4 separate regions of the Homo sapiens genome follow, and regions 1, 3 and 4 are each linked to region 2. The links are contacts of gene promoters, found by promoter capture Hi-C in blood cells and fetal thymus (Javierre and others, 2016). All regions are on one chromosome and are shown on one strand. The core of a region is centred on a gene start or on the middle of the fragment in contact, and the rest is flanking DNA. Distances in the headings are between cores, read along the strand shown.

Region 1 (5,522 bases), core at 1,538-4,037, 66 kb before region 2:
GAGGCCGAGGCGGGCTGATCACGAGGTCAGGAGTTTGAGACCAGCCTGGCCAACATGGTGAAACCCCATCTCTACTAAAAAAATACAAAAAATTAGCCAGGCATGGTGGCGGGTGCCTGTAATTCCAGCTACTTGGGAGGCTGAGGCAGGAGAATCGCCTGAACCCGGGAGGTGGAGGTTGCAGTGATCCAAGATCATGCCATTGCATTCCAGCCTGGGCAACAAGAGTGAAACTCCATCTCAAAAAAAAAGAAGCAAGCCCCAGAATGGGAAAAGATTCTTGTTACACATACAGCTGACAAAAGGTTCCTATAAAACGTTGAGGACGGCTGGGCGTGGTGGCTTATGCCTATAACCCCAGCACATTGGGAGGCCAAGATGGGAGGATTGCTTGAGCCCAGGAGTTTGAGACGATCCTGAGCGTCATAGGGAGACCCCATCTTTACAAAAAATAGAAAAATTAGCTAGGTGTGGTGGTGTGTGCCTGTGATCCCAGCTACTCAGGAGGCTGACACGGGAGAATCACTTGAGCCCGGAGGTCGAGGCTGCAGTGAGCTGTGATTGCACCACTGCATTCCATCCTGGGTGACAGAGTGACATCCTGTCTCAAAAAACAAAAACAAAAGACCTGAGAGGTTTACAGGACAATGAGATACTCCTTCAGAAACACAGAAATGGCCACGTGCAGTGGCTCACACCTGTAATCCCAAAACTTTGGGAGGCCAAGGTGGGTGGATCGTGTGAGCTCATGAGTTTGAGACCAGCATGGGCAACATGCTGAAACCCCATCTCTACAAAAAATACAAAAATTAAGGCTGAGTGTGGTGACTCACACCTGTAATCTCAGAACTTTGGGAGGCAGAGATGGGCCGATCACTTGAGGCCAGAGTTTAAGACCAGCCTGGCCAACATAATGAAACCCCGTGTCTACTAAAAATACAAAAATTAGCCAGGCATGTTGGCAGGCACCTGTAATCCCAGCTACTTGGGAGGCTGAGGCAGGAGAATCGCTTGAACCCAGGAGTCAGAGGCTGCAGTGAGCCAAGAGCATGCCAGTGCACTCCAGCCTTAGTGACAGAGTAGACTCCATCTCAAAAAAAAAAAAAAAAAAAAAAAGCTGGACATGGTAGTGCACGCCTGTGGTCCCAGCTACTTGGGAAGCTGAGGCAGGAGGATCGCTTGAGTCTGAGAGGCAGAGGCTGCAGTGAGCCATGCTCGTGCCACTGCAATCCAGCTTGGGCAACAGAGTGAGATTCTATCTCCCAAAAAAAATTTTTTTTTTTTGAGGAAAAGTGTTTTTTAACCCAGTAGAAAACTGAAGAAGAGACTTGCTTGAATAGGCTGGTAAACATGGGAAGATGCTCAGCTTCATTAGTCATCTGGGAATTGCCAGTGTAACTCCCATGCCTGTACCAAAATGCATACAGTTACCAACACTGATAATACCAAATGTAGGTGAGGATACAGAGCAACCAGAAGGATTTTGTGTGCTGCTGGTAAGCATATAAATTGGTACAACCAATTTGGAAAATGATTTCTAATTTTCTACTAAAGGCGAGCATGTTTTTCCCATGACCCAGAATTCCACCCCTGGGTATATGCCCAACATCTGTTCTGAACTGGTATTTAAATGTAGACCTGTGCTGTCCAGTATGGTAGCCACTCACCACATGTAGCTATTGAGCACTTGAATGCGGCTGGTTCACCCTGAGATGTGCTTGAAGTATAAAATATATGCTGACTTCTGAAAACTTAGTATGAAAACAGAATGTAAAGCATCTCATCTCGATGATTTTTAAAATATTGAATATAGAATATTCAATATATAGAATATAGAATGTTTTAATATATGTAATATTAAAATATTACATATAGAAATGATAATGTTTTGAATATAATGGATTAAGTAAAAATATCATTAAATTGATTTTATCTGTCTTTTAAACATGGCTACTAGACAATTTTAAGTTATATGTGTGGCTCACATTCACGGTTCATGTTTTATTTCCATTGGATGGCTCTCCTCTAGAGGCTTGATCAGAGTCCACTTGGATTTCTTTGTTTTTGGAAATGATACTTAATAGTTTGCACACCACGTATTTTCCTACCTCTCTACTTTTATTTTTTTATTTTGCATCATATTAGGTGCACTTTAATATCTGGTTATCTCTCTCCTTGTGATAAAATTGATGATTGGGTTCAGATATTGTCAGCCTACTCCTCCATTATAAAGACCCATCAGTCTTTCATATGGTTTTAGCAGTCATTGGTGATCAGTAACAGTGACATTTTTGTTTTGTCCTTCAGGCTGCATTTATCATCTGCAGTACTTCTGTAATGAAGATCTTTCCATCATCAGTCCTTTCATTAACCTAATATTAGTTATTACAGGAGAGATCATCTTGTTGAAATATTATATGATCATATCTCTTCCCTGCACTTAAAATCCTGAAATGGCAGTCCGTTCATTAAAATAAATAATCCATACCCATTATATATTGAGGCACCAGCCCACTTCTTTGGAGCTTGGATGGTAACCACCTTCCAAACATGACATAGTCGCCTCTTATCTTACACAGAGCTGTCTGCTTCTCCCTGAATTCACAGTGTTTTCCTACCTCTCTAGTTTTATTCATGCTCTTTTCTGGAAAATGATTTCCTTCACACATCCTGCATCACAGTTCTTACTTCCAGCGTAAGCTTCACCAACTCTAAGTAGCATTACCTTCTACTCCTAGGTAGAATTTGCCTTTCCCTAATTTGCCCTTCCCCAACAGTGTCCTCTGCATATATTTCTACCATGTTCCCTTTTTAACCCTGTAGTTGAGCTTTTGTATTTACATGTCTTCCAAGTCTCTGAGTTGCTGCAAGAGTAGAAGCTTATGTAATTCTGTGTTGAGCACCAGAACCCAGCTCAACTACAGCCTCACATGTAGTTGCTTCGTCAACATCATGCTGGTTATTCCTAAATTAGCTAAAGGACTTAGAGGGAACCCATTTCTGGCCTCATTTTTGAAAAAAAAAAATGAATGAATGAATGTAGGTGTACAGTGGATGGAGGATATTTCTCTTATTTTTTTTTAAATCCCTAAAAATGTGAAATAGGTGTTTGGTGGGAAGCCTCTGTGATGGATCGTGGTGAAAATCATTAAAAGCATGTTCCTCCTATATGTGCCATCCCCACTCGCCAATGATGACCTAATTCACAGTGAGCTGGGGTACACTGTTACAGGCATCAGTGTCATTTGAGGACGTGACCGTGGACTTCAGCAGGGAGGAGTGGCAGCAACTGGACCCTGCCCAGAGATGCCTGTACCGGGATGTGATGCTGGAGCTCTATAGCCATCTCTTCGCAGTGGGTGAGCACAACTGACCTGGGAATCTTGGCTGGATCCTGTTGAGGAGATTTCCTTCCTCCTCATTGCAGAACGCAGTGGGATATCAAAGTATGTCATGACTCTTTTATCGGTTTGTCCTGGATTGTTTGTTTCTTTTGGGCACCTTCTAGTATTATTTTGTGCCCAGTGGAAAATGTTGACTTTTCTAATGAGCCAGTGTAAAGCTTCATTGAATGGCCTCTAAAACTGAAGAAGCTACACCCAAATCCAGTATCCTTTCTAATTAACAGGGTATCACATTCCCAACCCAGAGGTCATCTTCAGAATGCTAAAAGAAAAGGAGCCGCGTGTGGAGGAGGCTGAAGTCTCACATCAGAGGTGTCAAGGTGAGTAAGTTGTACCCGGGCAAATGTAGATATCTTTGCAGGGAACCATTACCAGTCTACCATACTTTTCTATTCCCTCCATTCCCCCAGTGATGGCCCGTAGATTGCCTCCTACTCCCAGTTTCCCATCAAACACTGTAAATGTGCTATAAATGTTAAATGTCCTATAGGGGCTGCCTTAAGAATTTTCCATTGGTGAATACTCAGGAATGGGATTGCCTGGTCCTGGAGATAAGTATACTTGACTAAATCAACCATATTGCTCTTCTGATGGGCTGCACCAGTTCACACTCCCCATGTGCAGTGCACAAGGATTTGCATTTGCACATCTTGCTTGCTAACACTTGGCATTAACAAAATTGGTGAATTTATAGCCCTACTGATAGGTGAAAGGGCTGTTTCATTTTTTTTTGTTTTTGGTTTTGGTTTTTTTGAGACAGAGTCTCACTCTGTCACCTAGGCTAGGGTGCAGTGGCACGATCTTGGCTTACTGCAACCTCTGCCTCCTGGGTTCAAGTGATTCTCCTGCCTCAGCCTCCCGAGTAGCTGGGACTACAGGCACCCGCCACCACACTCGGCTAATTTTTTGTATTTTTAGTAGAGACAGGGTTTCACCCTGTTAGCCAGGATGGTCTCGATCTCCTGACCTTGTGATCTGCCCACCTCGGCCTCCCAAAGTGCTGGAATTATAGGCGTGAGCCACCGCACCCAGCCTGTTTCATTGCTTAAGTGTTATTTTTCTAATAACTGAATGGTGAGAGCCTCTCATCTTATCTGTTATCTGATTGGCTTTTTCATTTGTTTGTTGCATTTTCTTACCGCTTATCTCTTTACGTCCATGGAGTTTTCTGCCTTTTTTTTCCAGTTTTTTTGCCCCTAATTTTATTTATTTTCTTTTCTTTGCTGGATCTGCTGTCTTCTTTTCCTCCCAGTTGTGGCACCTCTAGCTTGGGGCCCTGTTCTTCCATATGGGCATCTTTTCTTTTTTTTGAGGCAGAGTTTCACTCTTGTTGCCCAGGCTGGAGTGCAATGGCACGATCTTGGCTCACCGCAACCTCCGCCTCCCAGGTTTGAGTGATTCTCCTGCCTCAGCCTCCCAAGTAGCTGTGATTACAGGCATGCACCACCATGCCCGGCTAATTTTGTATTTCTAGTAGAGACGGGGTTTCTCCTTGTTGGTCAGGCTGGTCTCGAACTCCCGACCTCAGGTGTTCCGCCTGGCTTGGCCTCCCAAAGTGCTGAGATTACAGGCGTGAGCCACCGTGCCCGGCTATGGGCATCTTTTCCCACAGGAATTGACTTAAAGGACCCATCCATTCTGAACTCTTAGTCCTCATATTTTTATTCTAATGATTTATATATCAGTACCTCTAGTCCCTGTGCTTAAACTGTGTTCTGCTACCTTACTTAGCTCCACGGAGGACAGTTCCCATGAGATGACTCACTTCCTTAATTTTGGGAGATCAGAAATTGGAATCATCATCATCCAAATAAGGAATTCTCACCTGATAAATTTTGTGAGATTTTTCTGTTTCTGGGCTCAGAAACACAGTCCTCTAATTTAATTTATTACTTTGGAATTCTTACCAGTTTTTCTTGTTTTAATTAAGAAAAAAGTGACCCTTTTTCTTAATCCCAGTGGTATTACAACAAACTAGATCCCCATTTTCTCATATTTAGACAATTTTGTTCCCAGTGAGATATGTTGATTTCAGGTTTTTGAGTTTAGTCAAGATACTGACAGATTTTATGACCCCAAACATGGCTATTTTGTTTCTTTTTTCCTCAGTAGATATGA
Region 2 (6,162 bases), core at 3,663-6,162:
CCTGCACTTGTGCCCCCTGAACTTAAAAGTTAAAAAAAATCATATCAAGCATGTGTATTTATTAAAATGGAACTTAAAAAGAAAGTAGTAACAATTTGTTTAAAAATAAAAAACCAGTAAAATCTGCAATCACTTAGAAATTAAACAACACACTTCTAAGCAATCCGTGAATTCAAAGGAAATCTCAGGGGAAAGAAGGAAATATTTTGAACTAATATAAAAATACAACATAACAAAACTTTTGTGGTGCAGCAAAAGTGATTAAAGGGAAAATGCAGAACCAGTGGATACAGAAGGCTGACTGTACGATATTAAAAGCAAAAAAAACCCCACCAAAACTGAGAATGAGCTATTGATACGTGTAACAACGTGGATAAACTGGGAAAACCACACTGAAGAAATGAAAGCAGACCCTAAAGCAAATATGTTTGGTTCCAGTTATACGATGCACAGAACCTGACAATACAGGTATTGCCTTCTTGTATATGGACAGAAGGAGAATCACTTGAACCTGGGAGGCAGAAGTTGCAGTGAGCTGAGATTTTGCCATTGCACTCCAGCCTGGGCAACAAGATAGAAACTCTGTCTCAAAGAAAAAAAAAAAAGACATAATTTTTGTCTACAAACTCTCACAGAGGCATTAAAGAGTAAAATCAGTTATGTTGTATTGTTTCATAAAAGTTTTACTTATTTTGTAACAATTGTATTGGATAATAATCACAATGAGGTAGAGTTTTAACTGGAAAACAAATGCTGCCTCTCTGTGCCTATATGGATAGGGAAGCTGAGGAGACCAGAAATTCAAGTGTTAAGAAGGTAACTTTTGGCAGCCAGGCACGGTGGCTCATACCTGTAATGCCAGCACTTTGGGAGGCCAATGCAGTGGATTGCTTGAGGTCAGGAGTTCGAGACCTGGCCAACATGGTAAAACCCCATCTCTACTAACATACAAAAAAAAAAAATTAACTGGATGTGGTGGCAGGCACCTGTAATCCCAGCTACTAGGGAGGCTGAGGCAGGAGAATTGCTTGAACCCCAGAGGTGGAGGTTGCAGTGAACGGAGATTGTGCCACTGAACTCCAGCCTGTGCAACAGAGTGAGACTCTGTCTCAAAAAAAAAAAAAAAAAAAAAAGGTAACTTTTGGGTAATGGGTAATGGGGGTATAAGACCGAAAGTACATTCCCTTCACAGGGCTGGAGATGGTGGATGGAGAGGGAAGAGAAGGGCAGGTGGAGAGGGGATGGGGTGCAGATGGGGATGCAGGTGTGGTGGGGCAAGACTCACAAGCAGAGGGGAATAAGTAGAAGGGGTATGGGGCAGGAAGGAAAAGAGGGGTAGTCAGTGGGATGTGAGCTTCCAGAAAGAAGCTGACAGTGATGTCCTGCATGTGTCCCACAGGGCTAAGTGTCCACACCTCAGTTCTGTCTTGAGCGGGAGGGGCTCAGCCAGGCCTCTCAGCCCTGCTCTGCTGGGGGCCTCCACACCTGCAGAGCCAACATGGGCCTCAGATCAGCACCAGCCACTTCAGTTCTAATTCCAGGTGGGGCTGAGCTGTCCTGGGGCAGGACAGCTCAGCCCCACCTGGAACTCAGGAGCTTCCTGGAGACAGGCAGTCCGGCTCACCTGGTATAGTAGATCCAGGTGAGGCCATAGGTGAGGAGGAAGCCAGCCCCCATGAGAGCCCCCCTGATCAGGGTGAGGACGAGGGGCCAGGAGCCCTGCTGTTTCTCAGTTACACATATGCAGGAAGAGGAGCTTCCTGGGAGAAAGGAGAAGGTAAGGTGCTGTTACCAGGCCTCAGTCCCTCCCACCAACCTGAATACCTCACCGGGCTGTCTACCCTCAGCACCTGTCCTGCAACTCACTCTGCACAGAAAGGATGAAGGACAGGTGCTGGGAGCCCAGCGGATGCTGAACCCGGCAGGTGAATTCCCCTCCCTCTCTAGCTCCTATGTTAGGCAGCTCCAGGGTCCCAGACATTGAGGTCTGGGAAGGATTGAGGGCTTTTCCCTCCCGGAACCAGCTCAGTGAGGCAGGGGGGTTGCTGTCAACTGTGCAGGCGAGGAACAGGGACTGGCCCTCCTGGATGGGCACCGACATGCCATTGCTCAGGATCCGCAGGGCTGGGAAAGAGAAGCACAGCCAGGTGAGTGGAGCTGGGAGGCCCAATTCTCCCTCATTCCTCCCACTGAGCTGCAAGAAGAAAGACAAGACTGTGTGGTGAGTGCTGAGAATGGGCTAGTCATGGGTGAAAGGATGAGGACTTGGTGATCAGGTCAGGCTACCAGAAAGAAGGTGGCTGAGCTGAGAAAAGACAGATGAGGAGGAGTTCTCACATTAAGGAGAAGTGGATGGGCAGCTCAGGTGCAGACGTGCCAAGAACTGAGACAGGCAGACGAGGAAAGAGGCTCCTAGATCCGCAACCTGTCAGGGAGGACCCAGAGCTCCCAAGACACGATAATGGAGGTAGAAGCAGGCTCAGATCTTTTGGAGCATTGGGTGCCAGATTGAGGGCCTTGGGCTTTATCCTGGAAAGCAAGAGGGGGCTATAAGCAAGGGAAACAGAGTTAGCACTGGATCTAGAAAGATCCTGCTGGAGCCAAGTAGGTCCCGGACTGGAGAGAAGTGGGATAGGAGGCAGGGAGGCTGGGAGGAGGCTGGGGCAATGGGCCAGGGTTGAGCACGAGACTTGAGCTGGGCCTGGAACCAAGGGGATGAGGAGGGAAGTGATGATTGGTGAAGTAAAGGTGTTAAGACTTGCGGACTCATGAAACAGCTGATGAGAAAGGGTGCTGTCTACAGCGATGTCCAGAACAGCCCTGGGATCAACAGGGAAGGAGGAGCCGAGAAGCATCCGAGGGAGGTGGCTAAATGTGCAGATCTGTGCCTCAGAGAAAGGGCTGGATATAAAGTTGTGGGAGGCATCAGGACAGGGTCAAGGAGAGATCGGATTACTCAGGAATGTGGAGGGGAAGAACTGGGTTCTGGGACAGAGCTGTGGGAGGTGGGAAAGTCGAAGGCTCCCAAAAAGGACGATCAGTTAGAGATGAAGCAGGGCATGCATCAGAGGACATCGGAGCAGGCAGAAATTCAAGAAAAGGGAACAGCGTGTCCTGAGTACTCAAACTCACAGAGACAGAAAAGTAGAATGGTGACTGCTCGGTGGCAGGAGGGGGAAGTGGAAAGTCGCTGTTCAGTGGGTACAAAGTTTCAGTTTTGCCAGATAAAAGGAGCTCTGCAGTTTGGTTTTGCAACAATGTGAACACATTTAACACTGCTGAACTGTACTCTTTAAAATGGCTAAGATGACAAATTTTGTGCTATGTGTATTTTCTCACAATGAAAAAATAAATCTGAAAAAGAGAGCAGAGAAAAGGGAGAAGCCAAAAGAAATACTAGGTCTGTTCGTGCAAGATCTTAGTGACTGGGATTGGGGGGTTGGGAGCAGGAAGGACCCAGACCCAGGGGCTGAGGGGTGAGGGAGGGTCTCCTCTCCCAATGCTGAACCCTGAGCTAATAGAAGGCTCCCATCACAGCCCCAGAGGGAAGAGGGTCTTTCCTACCTGTGCCTGTGCCATTTCTGAAGAAGATGCTGATGGCGAGGTTCTGTGGAGCATCTGGGATAGAAAGATACAGCACCAGCTTCAGAGGTGACAAGAGGGATGGGCGTGGTCCCGGGAGGGACCCAAGGAGGGGCCACAGAAACCCACCAGGTGGGGACCGCTGTCCTTCCTGCCCACACACGAGTTTTCCCTGGTTATCATTCTCTTTCTCTCTCTCTCTTCTACACACACACACACACACACACACACACCCCCCTCACTCCCACTGCCCTTGGGGACTCAGCTGTGTCCCCAGCACCACTCACAGGAGACATTGAGCTGGACAGTTCTCTCCGTGGTCACCTGAGCTCCTTGGCGTTTCACCTGACAGGTGAGGTTGGTGCCATGGTCCTCGGGCCTGGGGGTGAGGGTGAGCTCCGAGGAGCGGGTGGTCTCGGGGTCCAGGGGGCTGAGGGCATTCCCCGTCCAGGAGAATGTGAGAGGTGGTCCCGCTTCACAGGATCCTGGAAGGCTGCAGCTCAGCCTTGTGGGGCGGCCGGACTCCAGAGGCTCCAGAAAGTGGATGTCGGGTTTCTCTATCAGGGCTGAGGAGGAGACAGGGAGATACCTGGGCCCCAGGGGCTTGAGGACGTAAGGTGTGACCCCGAGAGTGGCCAGGCCTCAGGCCCCGACCTGCCCCAAGTCCTACACCTCCTCCAGCCGCCCCTGCCCAACTCCTGTCCCTGTTCTCATACGGGGGTCTCCACGTCCCAGGGTCCTCTCCTAGGGTTCCTGCCATACCTGTCACCTCCAAGTTCAGCTTATTCTGTTGGTAGCTATATTTTACATCCCTTCCTCTCTCCACGCGGAAGAAATAGCTTCCCGTGTCCTCCATTCTGGCATCTCCGATGCTCAGGGAGCAGTTCTTCTTCTGGACATCCCCAAGGAGGCGGAATCGGCCCTGGGTCTCTGGCTTCACTCTTCTGTCTGGGTTGTTTGTGGCCACAACCTCAGCGTAGTATGGGATCTCCCCGTCCCGGAACCAGTAGACGTAGAGTGGGGGAGAGGAATACCAGGATCTCCAGGGGTAAGAGAAGGAGCAGGGCACAAGGACGCACAGGCCCTCCTGCACCGTCACCGACTTCTGCACTTGCAGCTCGTACACTGGCTTCTCCTGCAGGGACCCTGGGGGGACACAGAAGCTCAGCTGCAGCTCCAGCCCCCCTTCTCACCCCTGTGCCTGTCCCTCCTCCCTCAGCTCACTCACCCCCCCACAGCAGGGGCAGCAGCAGCAGGGGCAGCATGTCTCCATCCGCCAGGGCCCCAGCCCAGTCCCAGGTCCGGCTGTCAGGGAAGGAAATGCTCCAAATGTCCAAACGTGGGGTGGGGCTGAGAAAGCCCCGACAGGAAGCCGGAGGGTGAGTGAGAGCTGTGGACGCGCACAGAAGGGGAACTTGGGCATCACGTGCTGTTGGGGTGAGGCTGGGGCTGGGAAGCCATTCTGCTCCCACCCCCACTGGACGCCGATGGTGAAGATACTGAGGCCCCCAGAGGGGCTTGTCCAGACTTGTAAGTCTAGACTCCTGAGGTCACCAGGTCCCATAGCTGCAGCACTTTCCTTATGCACCTTTGTCTACATAGGAAGGAGAACACCACTTGGCCAGCTCCCTGGGAGTCAGGGCCTCGGGACCCTCAGCGAGATGGGAGAATAAATCCTTTATGACATGATAGGAGCTGTGGTGAGGGAAGCACACGCTGGGGGTTTCAGGTGGGGAAGACTTTCCTCTTTCCAGAGGGAAGGCAAGTTGTCAGGGACAAACACATCAGGTGGACATGACCGGGTCCTTAGCAGTCAAGAGAGATGTGGTCCCCACCACCAGTTGGATTTGGGAACCTCATCTCATCCTTGTCCTTGTCCCAGGCAGCGTCAGACCCCATCCCTGATGTTGACAGCCAGATGAGGCTTGAGAGCCGGGCATTTGAAATGTGAACGTTGAGGATATGGAATACCAAGTGTGAACCCAGACCCCTCACCTACCGGCTGTTGAACTTTACAAAAGTTACCTACCCTCTCTGTGCCTCAGTTTGCTCAGCTGAAAAATGCAGACAATAATAGAATTGCTGTGTGGGGATTCAGTGAGGTCTCATGTGTAAAGTGCTTAGGACAGTGTCTGGCCCCGAGAATTCACTCATTCAACTGATGCTTCATGGGCGCCTATGGTGCACCAGGCCCCCTGTTTTAGGAGCTGGAGATACAGCAAAGGATAAACTCTTAGGATGAGAAGGTAAGTCAAAAATCCTAGTGGGGGCTCCTCTGGGCACACTGCTTATGCATACCCCTGCTCCACGAAGAACAGTAAAAAAAGAAGGCCGGGCGCAGTGGCTCACGCCTGTAATCCCAGCACTTTGGGAGACCGAGGCGGGTGGATCACGAGGTCAGGAGATCAAGACCGTCCTGGCTAACATGGTGAAACCCCGTCTCTACTAAAAATACAAAAAATTAGCCGGGCGTGGTGGCGGGCGCCTGTAGTCCCAGCTACTGGGGGGGCTGAGGCAGGAGGACGGCGTAACCCGGGAGGTGGAGCTTGCAGTGAGCCGAGATCGCACCACTGCACTCCA
Region 3 (6,221 bases), core at 2,406-4,905, 77 kb after region 2:
GAACCCCTGGGCTCAAGTGACTTGCCTGCCCCGGCCTTCCTAAGTGCTGGGATTACAGGCATGAGCTACCTCGCCGGGCCCCAAAATTATTTTCATTAACGAAAATAATTGGAGCAAATAGCTATCTAGGCTTCATGCTGATTAGATTCCTTCTTTTCATTATTATTTATTTTTATAGACAGGGTCTTGCTCTGTCGCCCAGGCTGGGGTGCAGTGGCACCATCATAGCTCACTGCAGCTTCTAACTCCTAGGCTCTGGCGATTCTCTCACCTCAGTCTCCCAAGAAGCTAGGACCACAAGGCTGGAGTCACTATGCCTTGCTAATTAAAAAAAAAACAATTAGAGGAGGGGTCTCACTATGTCTCCTAGGCTCCAGTCTCCCAAAGTGCTATGAATACAGGCATGAGCCACCAAGCCCAGCCTGATTTTGTTTCTTCCAATACAACTTTTTTCCACGTTTTGAAATCTCTTAAATCCGTGAGGATGATTGCATGCGATGGAGTGTCACAATTTAATTACTAGGGCGTTTCCCTCCTCTTTCTTAGTGGCACATACAATGAGGATTTATCTCCCAATCAAAGGTTTCTTAGGGTTGAGACAGTAATAATAATAACACATACTAAAAAACCAAAATGCTGTGTACCAGTCCCTGCTCTAAGCCTTTAAGATGAATGAATTTATTTTAATCTTTACAACAGCGCTGTAAGGTAGGTACTGTTATTATTATCCCCGTTGTACAGATGAGGCAACTGAGTCACACAGAGGTTCAGCAATTTGCCCAAGGTTGTCCCTGGAAAGCAGAGGAACCTGGATTTGAACCCTAGGAACTGAATCTCTAAACCTCTAGCCCTCGGGAGAGCCCTGGGGGACAGATAGTGCTCTGCCACCATACAGGTGGCCAAACTGAGGACTGATTGGCCAGAAGGAGTGGCTTGCACAAGATCAGCAGCCCATGGTAGAGGACTCTTCTCTCTGACTTTCCAGAGGCATAGCCTGGTTCTCCTTTTCCACTGCCCAACTCCCCAGCAGAGCCAGGTGCCCCAGTAAATGTTGCTGGAAGAGCCCAGAATCAGAGGAAAAAGTACTTTCTGTGTGCCAGACACTACTGTACAACAACCTTAATATATATATATAAATTTTTTTTTAAATTGAGACAGGGAGCCAGAAACTGTGGCTCACGCCTGTAATCCCAGCACTTTGGGAGGCGGAGGCGGGTGGATCACCTGAGGTCAGGAGTTCGAGATTAGCCTGGCTAACATGGCGAAAGCAAAATACAAAAATTAGCCAGGCTTGGTGGCGCACGACTGTAGTCTCAGCTCCTCAGAAGGCTAAGGCAGGAGAACTGCTTGAACCCCTGAGGTGGAGGTTGCAGTGAGCCAAGATGGCACCACTACACTTCAGCCTGGGTGACAGTGCGAGACTCCATCTCGAAATAATAATAATAATAATAGAGACAGGGTCTTGCTGTGTTTCTCAAGTTGGTCTCGAACTCCCAGGCTCTAGCGATCCTCCTGCCTTGGCCCCCTAAAGTGCTGGGATTATAGGCGTGAGCTACTGCACCCGGTCTCTACAACAATCTTATAAGGCAGGTACCTTCACTGTCTTCTGTTACAGATGAGGAAACTGAGACACTGAGAGGCAAATACTTTTACCCAAGGTCACTCAGGTAATAAGCAGAGTCAGAAGTAAAACTCAGGCAGTCTGGCTCTGGCGTCCCCTCTACGCTAAACTGCCTCCTATGCCACCAGTTCCTGCCTCAAGGCTTACTGTGGGTTATTTAAATGCGTCGTTAAGATGTAGATCTTTGTGTCCAACACAGGTGTCAGCAGCCACATGTGTCTACCGAGTACTTGAAATGCAGCCAGTATCACCGAGGAACTGAGTTTTAAATTTTATTTAATTTTAATTCATTTAAATTTAAAAACTCTTACTTGATTCGGTTATTGGAAAGATTTTAAATATGTCTGGAACAAGTTGCATCTACGATGCCCCTTTTATAATTGTAAATCTTATAAAATCTAAACACAGATTAGGTATTTCCAGTGAAAAGGTAGCATCTAAGTGAGAAGTGCTATGAACACACTGGATTTTGAAGGCCAAGTCTGGGGAAAAGAAAGTAAAATAGCTCATTAACATTTATGTATTGATTACATATTGAAATGATCATATCTTATATGTAGCAGGGGTCGGCATGCTAAGACCTGCTGCAGCCTGCAGGCTAAGAATTTGTGTGTGTGTTTTTAGATGGTTTTTGAAAGCCAAAAGAAGAATAATAGTTTGTGGAGCATGAAAAATATGAAATTCAAATTTCAGTGTCCTTAAAGGAAGTTTTATTTGCATACAACCACATTCATTTGTTTATACATCATCTGTGGCTGATTCTACATTTACCACATCGAAGTTGAGTACTTTCAAAAGAGACCAGATGGCCCCCAAAAGCCTCAAATATTTAATATTGGGCCCTTTATTTAAAAAAATGTGCTGGCCCCTGACACACTGGGTTAAATAAAAATATATTATTAAAATTAATTTCACCTGTTTGTTTTTACTTTTTCAAATGTGGCCACAAGAAAATTTTAAATTAGATATTGTGGTTTTCGTTACATTTCTAGAGGACAAAACTGAGGTACAGCTTTTAAACTCTCAACATTAAACATTATTCTTTCTTCTCGAATCCCCCTTCTCTCTTCCTTTGCTTCAAACCTGGCCTTGCCTGAGTTCCTAGGGATGGCTCAATTCATGCTGGGGATCCAGAGAGTTGATTCCAGAAACACAGATGAACACACGTGTAGACACACTCCCCCACACGTGAACTCACACATGATGAGTGACACACAGAATGAAATTACTCGTGTTCTACAGGATGACCCGAGACACCCACTCAGGCCAAACACAGCGATCCCGTGACCCCCACCGACGGCCACACAGGTGAACCTGCAGACACACACCCCTCAGCAGGAAAAAGCAACACCAGCAAAGGATGTCCACGTGGCCACAAACACACAGAGCCCCAACTGAGAGTCTGGGGCAATGGGATGCACAGGGAAGATTTCAAGAGAAATAGTAGGTGACTGTCAAGCTGATACTGAACCAGATGAAATTGCTATTCTTCCAAGTTTAGAGTGGCTCAGTATCGGCGATTTCATTTGGTTCAACTTAATAGCTATTGAACGCATGAAACAGAAATCCATTCCCATGTGCCACAGGCAAATCCAACTCTCTTTCTCACTCAGTCTCTTTCATTCGCTCACTGTCGCACTCCCTCTTTCTCTCTGCCTCCCAGGGAACATAGACATACACAAGTTTGTAGCAAGATACGCAGATACAGAAATACGGACATGGCACGTCTCACCTACATGTACTTGGGATGGCCGCTCACACAGGGCAATGTATACACAGACCTGCACACTCAGCCTCACATGCTCACTGTCCCCTACACACATATGGTCACTGTCAGGCACATGGATACACACATGAAATCATGCACACACAGTTCCCCAACACACGTGGTCACACATATGGCAGTAGTTTTCCCCACATGGCTGTATACACACACACACACACACACACACACACACACACACACACCTGTCTCATCGCAGTGGGTCTGGCCGGGCTCTCTCTTCTCTCCGGCTTGCTCTCCCAGCCTCTCTGTGGCCAGAGAGCTGGAGGGGGGTCATTTGAAGACCAGCGCAGGCGGGGGCGGGAGCGAGCGCTGACGTCAGTCAGGCTAAGCTGGGCCAGGGGCTCTGAGGTCACGGCCCAGCCGGGCAGCTCCACCCGCTTCCCGCTATTACTCCCACCCCCCTCAGCCAGACGGGCCTCCCTTCCCAGGCCCCCATGTCTACCCGCGCCCCTCCTCTAGTCCTCTCTGCCATCACTCCCCCTCCTCTCCCTCCCTCCTCTATGTCTTCTTCTCTCTTCCTCCCCCCTCTCGTCCCTTGTCTCCCCTGATTTTTCTCTTCCACCTCACTTGCATTTTGGGGGTTCCCCTCATCCCCCCATCCCCTATCCCTGTATTTCCCTCCATCCCTTTCTTTCTCCCTAACCCACTATTTCTCCTCATCTCTTTGTTGGTACCCTCATCTCTCTCCCCATTACCACATTTCTCCAAGTTTCTGTCTTTCTCTCCATCCCTTTCTTCCTCTCCACTTCTCTTGCCTCCTCTCACCCTCATTTCTTTCTCTTCTTGCTTTAAAGCTCTCCCCACCTCCCCCTTCTCACCTTCCCCAGTCACCCCCGCCCTGCTTCTCCCCACAGCCGCCTCTCCTGTCCCCAGAATCCATCTCTGGGTTGGGCCCCCCAGGGACATGTCTCAGCAACTGGCAGATGGAACGAAACTCACACACGTGCGTGCTGTGGGTGTGCCTGTGTGTACGCTGGCCCGAGGCACGGCTGCCTGGAACCGGAGCTGTGAGTGAACATCTGTCCATTCAGCGCCTAACTGACGTGGGTCTGCGTGTGTGCACCAGGGTCTGGGGTGGAGAGCTGGGGCGCTGGGATTTGTATCCCCAGGGACTCAGGGATGAACACAGAGAGTTGTCGGTCAGCTGACCCTGGGGAGCCAGCCGGGGTCTGTCAGTGCTGTCACCCATCAGGGAAACTGAGTCAGAGGAAGGGTGAAAAGAGATGCGGGACCTGGGGTGCCCGAACCCCAGCCCCTCAGGACCAGATCTGTGATAAATGTCTGTTTACATGCCCTTCTTTCCATGAATTTTTTAAAAAAACTATCTGTATCTAATTCTGTTCTTCTCTCTGCTCCTCTTACTGTGAACTATTGATGTCTCACTTTCGGCCTTGGTAGCTGCCTCGGTAGCTGCCTCGTTCTTTTCTCCCTGCCTGTGACTCCAACGACCTTTGGTGTCTGGCACGGGCCAGCTCCAGGACAGGCTGAAAGACATGGAGCAGCAGAGAGAAATTCCCCCGTGCTTCTCTCTCCTCGTCTGTCCCTCCCCAAATCTCTGTCATTTTGTATCTGTCACCCCATCTCTGTTTCTCGGTCCCTCTATTTGGGTCTCTGCCTCTGTGTATTCCTGTCTGTTTCTCCTCCTCATCCCCCCTCACAGCCATTCTCTCTCTGCTTTTACCTGGGAGTGTCTGTCCCTTTGCATTTCTGAAGTCTCCCTGACTTTCTTCTTGTGTGGCTCTCTTTCTTTCTGAGTGCCTCTCCCTGACTTTCTCACTGTGTGTCCATGTGTGTGTGTCTCTTTCTCTCTGTCTCTTTTTCCCTCTATCTCCCTCCCTCTCTAGCTCTGTCTCTATCCTCCTTCCGTCTCTCTGCATCCCCATCTCTCTCTTTTTTTTTTTTTTTTTTTGAGACGGAGTCTCACTCTCTCACCTAGGCTGGAGTGCAGTGGCGTGAGCTCGGCTCACTGCAACCTCCGCCTCCCGGGTTCAAGCGATTCTCCTGCCTTAGCCTCCCGAGTAGCTGGAACTACAAGCGCCCACCACCACACCTGGCTAATTTTTTGTATTTTTAGTAGAGATGGGGTTTCACTATGTAGGCCAGGCTGGTCTCCAACTCCTGACCTCAAGTGATCCATCTGCCTTGGCCTTCCAAAGTGTTGGGATTACAGGCGTGAGCCACCGCACCTATCTCTTTGTAAGGCTCTATCTCTGTATGTGTTTCTCTGTCTCTGTCTCTCTCATTCAGTTTCTCTCCATTTCTCTGTTTCTACATCTTCGTCTCTCCCTGCAGTTCCATCTCTTCCAGCCTGTCCCGGAGCTCTCCCCTGCCAGACACCAAGTCCTCACACCAAGTCCTCACACCCTGGGGTTTTCCCCGAGGAGGCTGCGCCAGGCCAAGCCTCTGCCTGGGCCTGTCAGGGAGAAGGTGCATTCCCAAGGAGCTCGAACGCCCTTCCCACCCACCAGGGCGGGCCGGGCTGTGTCTGACGCTGTTGCCGGGAGCCGGGCTGCCTGGTGTCTGGCTGTGTCAGGATGATGGGTCCTCAGATGATCTGAGGCCAGCCCAGAGCAGAAGGGGAGGGTGAGTCCTCCGCCCAGTGGGAGGGGGCAGCGCAGGCTCCTCCCCAGAAGTGGGGCATTTGGCTGCCCAGCCCCCACCCCGCCCTGCTCGGGTGGAGCAGCTGTATAAAACCAGATGTTTCTAAAACCAGAGTGCGGTTGAGGAAGGATAACCAGGGCTTTAATCCTCAACAGTTCCCTCCTCTAAGACCCAGGAGTCCAGGTTCCCAGCACCCTCCTCCTTCAGACCCGA
Region 4 (6,182 bases), core at 2,865-5,364, 100 kb after region 2:
GTTTCTTGTTTATAATAAAATGATGGCCAGGCGCAGTGGCTCACTCCTGTAATCCCAGCACTCTGGGAGGCTGAGGCGGGCAGATCTCCTGAGGTAAGGAGTTCGAGACCAGCCTGACCAACATGGAGAAACTCCATCTCTACTAAAAAATACAAAGTGAGCCAGGTGTGATGCATGCCTGTAATCCCAGCTACTCTGGAGGCTGAGGCAGGAGAATCGCTTGAACCCAGTAAGTGGAGGTTGCAGTGAGCCGAGATTGTGCCATTGCACTCTAGCCTGGGCAACAAGAGTGAAACTCTGTCTCAAAAATAAATAAATAAATAAAATAAAATACAATAAAATGATGATGTCTGTAATGGTAATTAAATGATTATTCAAGAGCCGACAACAGAAATCTTCTTGATGGGGTGTGGTGGCTCACACCTGTAATCCCAGCACTTTGGAAGGCTGAGGCGGGTGGATCACAAGATCAGGAGTTCAAAACCAGCCTGGCCAATATGGCAAAACCCCACCTCTACTAAAAATACAAAAAAATTTAGCCGGGCGCAGTGGCGGGCGCCTGTAGTCCCAGCTAACCTGGAGGCTGAGGCAGGAGAATCGCTTGAACCCGGGAGGCAGAGGTTGCAGTGAGCTGAGATCGCACCACTGCACTCCAGACTGGGCGACAGAGTAAGACTCTGTCTCAAAAAAAAAAAAAAAAAAAAGAGCTGGCACCAGAAATCTTCTTAAGGAGGATACTGTTATTGATAAATGACTTGAGTTAGGAAAGGAGACCTGAGGGATAAAGAGTCAGAGTCAAGGGTAGGATGGCTAAATTTCTCTGCGTTGTAAAAAAAAAAAAAAAAAAAAAAAAAAAAGCAGGAATCTGGAGGTGAGGAGATAAGAGGGAGGGTGGACTTTTAAAAGGATGTCTTAAGTTCAACTGGAAGCTTTCATGTTTGTCCGTTGCTGGCCAGTTGCATACTCTAACATTTCCAAGCTTCTTTCTGTAAAGTGTGTTTCATATTTAAATACCTTGTGCAGGTAGCTTTTCAGTAAATTGAAGGAAATGTCTGAGTTCCTCTCTGGGTTAATTTCATCAGGGCAGCAACCACCAGACATTGTGTGAACTGGACTAACTCAGTTGAAGCAAGACTTAGAGCCACAGGTAAAAACACGGGCCCTGGGGGCCCTCCCTTGTGGAGAGGATAATCTGTTTCCCAAAATTTATTATATAAAAGATTAGGCATCAGGTAGATCTCAAGGAAATGAGGGGTCTTCAGCTGACATCTCGATAACTTTATATTTTTACTGAGTTGTTGACCGATAAAGGCTGAGGACTTTATATAAAGTATCTTCTTTTTTTTTTTTTCTGAGCCGGAGTCTCTCTCTGTCACCCAGGCTGGAGTGTAGTGGCGTTTTCTTGGCTCACTACAACCTCCGCCTTCCAGGTTCAAGCGATTCTCCTGCCTCGGTCTCCTGAGTAGCTGGGATTACGGGAGCCTGCCACTACGCCCAGCTAATTTTTGTATTTTTAGTAGAGACAGGGTTTCACCATGTTGGCCAGGCTGTTCTCGAATTCCTGACCCCTGGTGATCCGCCTGCCTCGGCCTCCCAAAGTGCTGGGATTACAGGCATGAGCCACCGCTCCTGCCCTATATAAAGTATCTTCTTGTATATCTTGTCTGATTTAAGCCATACTCTTTCACACTTCTCCCTCCTCCTTCATTTACCTAGGATGACTATATAATTTATTTTTCACAGCAGGGCACTTTTCAGAATGGAAGTGGACACTACTCATCATGATGCCAGAATGATGGGTATCATTCACTACTCATAATTCAGGACTAATAATAATGGGTATTATTTGGGTTCATTTCAGGCAAACTAGGATGCAGATGACAGCTTCTTCCTATCATTTCCCACCCTGACCACCCAAGGCTGAGGTCCAAAATCAAAAAAGAAGTCAATAATAAACTCATATCTGTTTATTCTCCCCAAATCAGGGGACACAAAGGCTTTTTTTTTTTTTTCTGATGAGTGGGTAATCCTAAAATAAGCAGGAAATGCCTGTGGCTCAGCCTAACTCAAGGTGAGACGAAGCTGGAGCTGGGAGCTCGAAAGTGTCCCCCAGCTCCCTCCTCACTTTGCCTGTAACTCCACCTCTGCAGAAGGTAAAGTAGAATTGGTAGCTGTGTCACTGGTTTGGGTTGAGTCCTCGGTCAGGGCCCTCTCCAGACTGGCGGGAAGGGCGTGGATCAGCCTCTCCCGGAAGTCCTGGCCCATGAAGACATAGAGCATGGGGTTGAGGCAGCTGTTGAAGAAGGCCAGGGCACTTGTCACATCCACTGCAATACCAATTTCTTTGTACATGCCTTGCAATAACTCACGGATTCTGACTGTGGCTATAAGGGCCACCACCTGATATGGGGACCAGCAGAGAAAAAAGGCTGCTGCGACAAAGGAGAGGACCCGTAAGGGACGACTGGACTTAATCAAGCCTTGCTTGTGGATCTTGGTGGCAATAAGCCCATAACTGACAGCAACGATGGACATGGGTGCGCTGAAGCCAATGATGAACCGGATGATGCCTCTCACCGTCAACATGGCAACGGCCACATTTATCCTCTCTTTAGGGTCGTTGGTCCAGGGCGAAAAGTTAAAAGTGCAGGCTACTGTCCCCGTTTTACCAGGTACTGTAGTCACACGAATGATAACTGGCAATGTGAGGAGCAGAGCCATCACCCAGGGCCCAATGATCACCTTCTTGGCCAGGCTCACGGTGCGGTGGTTCTGGGTCCAGACTGGATGCAGGACGCAAACACAGCGGTCCAGAGCAATGAGGGCGATCAGGAAGACACTTCCGAACAAGTTGATGTCCACTATGGTAAAGACGAATTTGCACAGGAACCAGCCGAAAGGCCAATGTCCTCCCATGGCCTTCCTGACCATGAAGAATGGCAAAGTGGAGGTGAAACAGAAGTCAGCCACGGCCAGGTTCAGGTAACTGATGGTGGTGACTGTGTGTGTCATCCGGAATCCAGCCACCCAGATCACAAGCCCGTTGCCCAGGACCCCGAGGACAAAGGTGACTGCAAATACCAGATAAGTGATGATATCCAGGAAGAGATAGCCAGCAGATACAGCAGGTGTCCCTCCAGAGATGTTCGTGGGGAGAGAGGAATTTGTCTCCATCTTGTCTGCTCCTGAAATAGTGCAGTCGTGGTCATTCCTCAGTTATGAACCTCCGTACCATTTCCCCACCCCCTCATTTCTGCCCCTGCCAGTTTTCCCACTCCTAGCTTTCTCACCTTCCCCTAGAGCTCCCACAACAGCCGGAACATCCTCACCACTGTCCCTTACACATGCCCACATCTATACATTGGCAATCTTTTATTGTACCTGTTGGGCAAGATTACATCTTTTTTTTTTTTTTTGAGATGGAATATTGCTCTGTCACCCAGGCTGGAGTGCAGTGGCGTGATCTCTCACTGCAACCTCCACCTCCCGGGTTCAAGCAATTCCCCTGCCTCAGCGTCCTGAGTAGCTGAGACTACAGGTATGCACCACCCCACTCCTGGCTAATTTTCGTATATTTAGTAGAGGTGGGGTTTTGCCATGTTGGCCAGGCTGGTCTTGAACTGCTGACCCCAGGTGATCCACCCACCTCAGCCTCCCAAAGTGCTGGGATTACAGACGTGAGCTACCACGTGTGGCCAAGATTGCATCTTATGACACATCCTCATAATTGCTAACATGCAAGCCCCTACCAGGGAGATTAAATGGCTAAGGAAGATAGGGTCCTTGACCTCCAAGAGGAGAATATGGGGCCAAAGATGTATAGAGAAAACATGTATTCAAACAAAAATGTTCATAGAGACACTCCTCCCTATAGCCAAAAGGTAGAAACAACCCAGATGTCCATCAACAGATGAATGGATAAACAAAATGTGGTTTATCCACCCAATGGAATATTATTCTGCCATAAAAAACAATGAAGCACTGATATATGCTACAACGTGGCTGAACCTTGAAAACATTACTCTAAACAAAAGAGGGCTGGATGTGGTGGTTCACGCCTGTCATCTCAGAGCTTTGGGAAGCCGAGGTAGGAGGGTTGCTTGAGCTCAGGAGTTCATGATCAGCCTGAGCCACATAGCAAGATCCTCATCTCTAACAACAACAACAACAAAATTAAATTAAATTAGCTGGATGTGGTGGCACACACCTGTAGTCCTAGCTACTCAGAAGGGTGAGATGGGAGGCTCACTTGAGCCCAGGAATTCAAGGTTAATAGTGTACTATGATTGAGCCACTGCACTCCAGCCTGGGCAACAAAGCAAGACCCTGTCTCTAAAATGAAAGAAAAAAGAAAGGAAGGAAAGAAGGAGGAAGGAAGGAGAGAAGGAAGGAAGACACCACAAGTCACATTTTGTATGATTCCACTTGTATGAAATATCCAGAGTAGCCAAACTCACAGAGACCGAATGCAGATTAGTGATTGCCAGGGACTGGGGAAACTAGGAAGTGGGGAATTGTTGCTTAATGAATATGCAGTTTTTGCTTGGTGTGATTAAAAAGTTCTGGAACTAGATAATGGTTATGGTTGCAACACACTGTAGATGTACTTAATGCCATTGAATTGTACATTTAAATGGGTAACTTTTTTATTGTTGTTTGAGACGCAGTCTCGTTCTGTCACCCAGGCTGGAGTGCAGTGGTGCGATCTTGGCTCACTGCAACCTCCGCCTCCCGCGTTTAAGTGATTCTCCTGCCTCAGCCTCCTGAGTAGCTGGAATTACAGGCACTTGCCACCATGCCCAGCTAATTTTTATATTTTTGTAGAGATGGGGTTTCACCATGTTGGCCAGCCTGGTCTCAAACTCCTTGACCTCAGGTGATCTGCCCGCCTCGGCGTCCCAAAGTGCTGAGATTATAGGCGTGAGCCACTGTGCCCAGCCTAAAATGGTTAACTTTTTGTATTTTACCATCAATTTAATAAAGGAAAAATAAGAGCATAAGATATCAGAAAATCAGTGGGCGACAGCTTCAGTGACCTAGTGTCACACAAACGTGGACTAAGACTTTCTCTCACCCATAACACTGCATAAGAACTATAAGGTATGCAACTTCTCAGCCAGGCGCAGTGGCTCACGCCTGTAATCCCAGTACCTTGGGAGGCCGAGGCGGGTGGATCATGAGGTTAGCAGTTCGAGACCAGCCTGGCCAACATGGAGAAGCCCCATCTCTACTAAAAATACAAAAATTAGCCAGGCATGGCGGTGGGTGCTTTTAGTCCCAGCTACTCCAGAGGCTGAGGCAGGAGAATCACTTGAACGTGGGAGGCGGAGGTTGCAGTGAGCAGAGACTGCGCCATTGCACTCCAGCCTGGGCGACAGAGCGAGACTCCGTTTCAAAAAAAAAAAAAAGATATGCAACTTCTCCACTCCAAATTCTGCTCGCTCTCTCTCTTTAAGGTCATGAAATCTCCCTTTCCTCTCTCATCGTGGGAAGCAAGGCATAGTACTTGGTTAGTTTTCCAACATAGGTCAAATGGATCCGTGAGTGATACTAAACGACGTATAATCAAGTATTATATCCAATGGATTCTGTGCTAGAAGAAGTCAGAACAACAGACTCTGTTTCCACTCTCGTCTCTGCGGTTACCTTGGCCAGATGGATGGGAGGTGCTTCTCCATCCATTGGATGGGCTCAGCACTCTTGGGGATGTAGAAGACCGTGATAGAAATAATAGTCCAAATATGTATTGGATATGACATTTCATTAGATCAGGTATGCAAAGTGCATGTCAGGTTCTTGCTGAGAGCTGGCCTTCTCTCTTTTTTTTAATTTATTTTATTTTATTTATTTATTTATTTTGAGATGGAGTCTCTCTCTATCACCCAGGCTGGAGTGCAGTGGCGTGATCTGAGCTCACTGCAACCTCCGCCTCCCAGGTTCAAGCAATTCTCCTGTCTCAGCCTCCTGAGTAGCTGGGATTTCAGGTGCACGCCGCCGTGCCTGGCTAATTTTTCTTTTTAATTGTATTTTAGTAGACATGGGGTTTCACCATGTTGCCCAGGCTGGTCTCAAACTCTTGAGCTCAGGCAGTCCACCTGCCTCAGCCTCCCAAAGTGCTAGGATTACAGGTGTGAGCCACTGCGCCCGGCCTGGTCTTCTCTTCTAATGCTTGCAGCAGCCTT

What was found. The method cuts DNA at HindIII sites, captures the fragments that hold promoters and counts their contacts. A CHiCAGO score of 5 or more calls a contact.
Region 1: a fragment that was not itself captured here is called in contact with the fragment with the promoter of SIGLEC14 in region 2 in 2 of 17 cell types (naive B cells and total B cells); the score reaches 8.6 in naive B cells.
Region 3: a contact is called between the fragment with the promoter of HAS1 here and the fragment with the promoter of SIGLEC14 in region 2, in 1 of 17 cell types (neutrophils). The highest score is 5.3, in neutrophils.
Region 4: a contact is called between a fragment that was not itself captured here and the fragment with the promoter of SIGLEC14 in region 2, in 2 of 17 cell types (neutrophils and monocytes). The highest score is 6.8, in neutrophils.

What each region holds. Positions count from the first base shown.
Region 1 is chr19:51,578,159-51,583,680 of GRCh38, forward strand. ZNF175 (zinc finger protein 175) reads left to right here. Exons shown (of 5, transcript NM_007147.4): 3 at 3,233-3,359; 4 at 3,629-3,724. Among named protein-coding and RNA genes, the nearest start is that of ZNF175, 9.6 kb to the left of the region's middle. The HindIII fragment of the contact is 179 bases long and covers 2,699-2,877 here.
Region 2 is chr19:51,641,913-51,648,074 of GRCh38, forward strand. It overlaps SIGLEC14 (sialic acid binding Ig like lectin 14), which reads right to left and starts at 4,913. Exons shown (of 7, transcript NM_001098612.3): 1 at 4,811-4,913; 2 at 4,345-4,728; 3 at 3,870-4,148; 4 at 3,565-3,618; 5 at 1,867-2,124; 6 at 1,625-1,760; 7 at 1-1,485. The coding sequence starts at 4,847. The coding sequence ends at 1,443. The HindIII fragment of the contact is 8,795 bases long and covers 1-6,162 here.
Region 3 is chr19:51,720,336-51,726,556 of GRCh38, forward strand. HAS1 (hyaluronan synthase 1) reads right to left here and starts at 3,656. Exons shown (of 5, transcript NM_001297436.2): 1 at 3,590-3,656. The coding sequence starts at 3,598. The HindIII fragment of the contact is 33,518 bases long and covers 1-6,221 here.
Region 4 is chr19:51,743,821-51,750,002 of GRCh38, forward strand. It overlaps FPR1 (formyl peptide receptor 1), which reads right to left. Exons shown (of 2, transcript NM_002029.4): 2 at 1,953-3,185. The coding sequence starts at 3,174. The coding sequence ends at 2,122. Among named protein-coding and RNA genes, the nearest start is that of FPR1, 5.0 kb to the right of the region's middle. The HindIII fragment of the contact is 6,274 bases long and covers 978-6,182 here.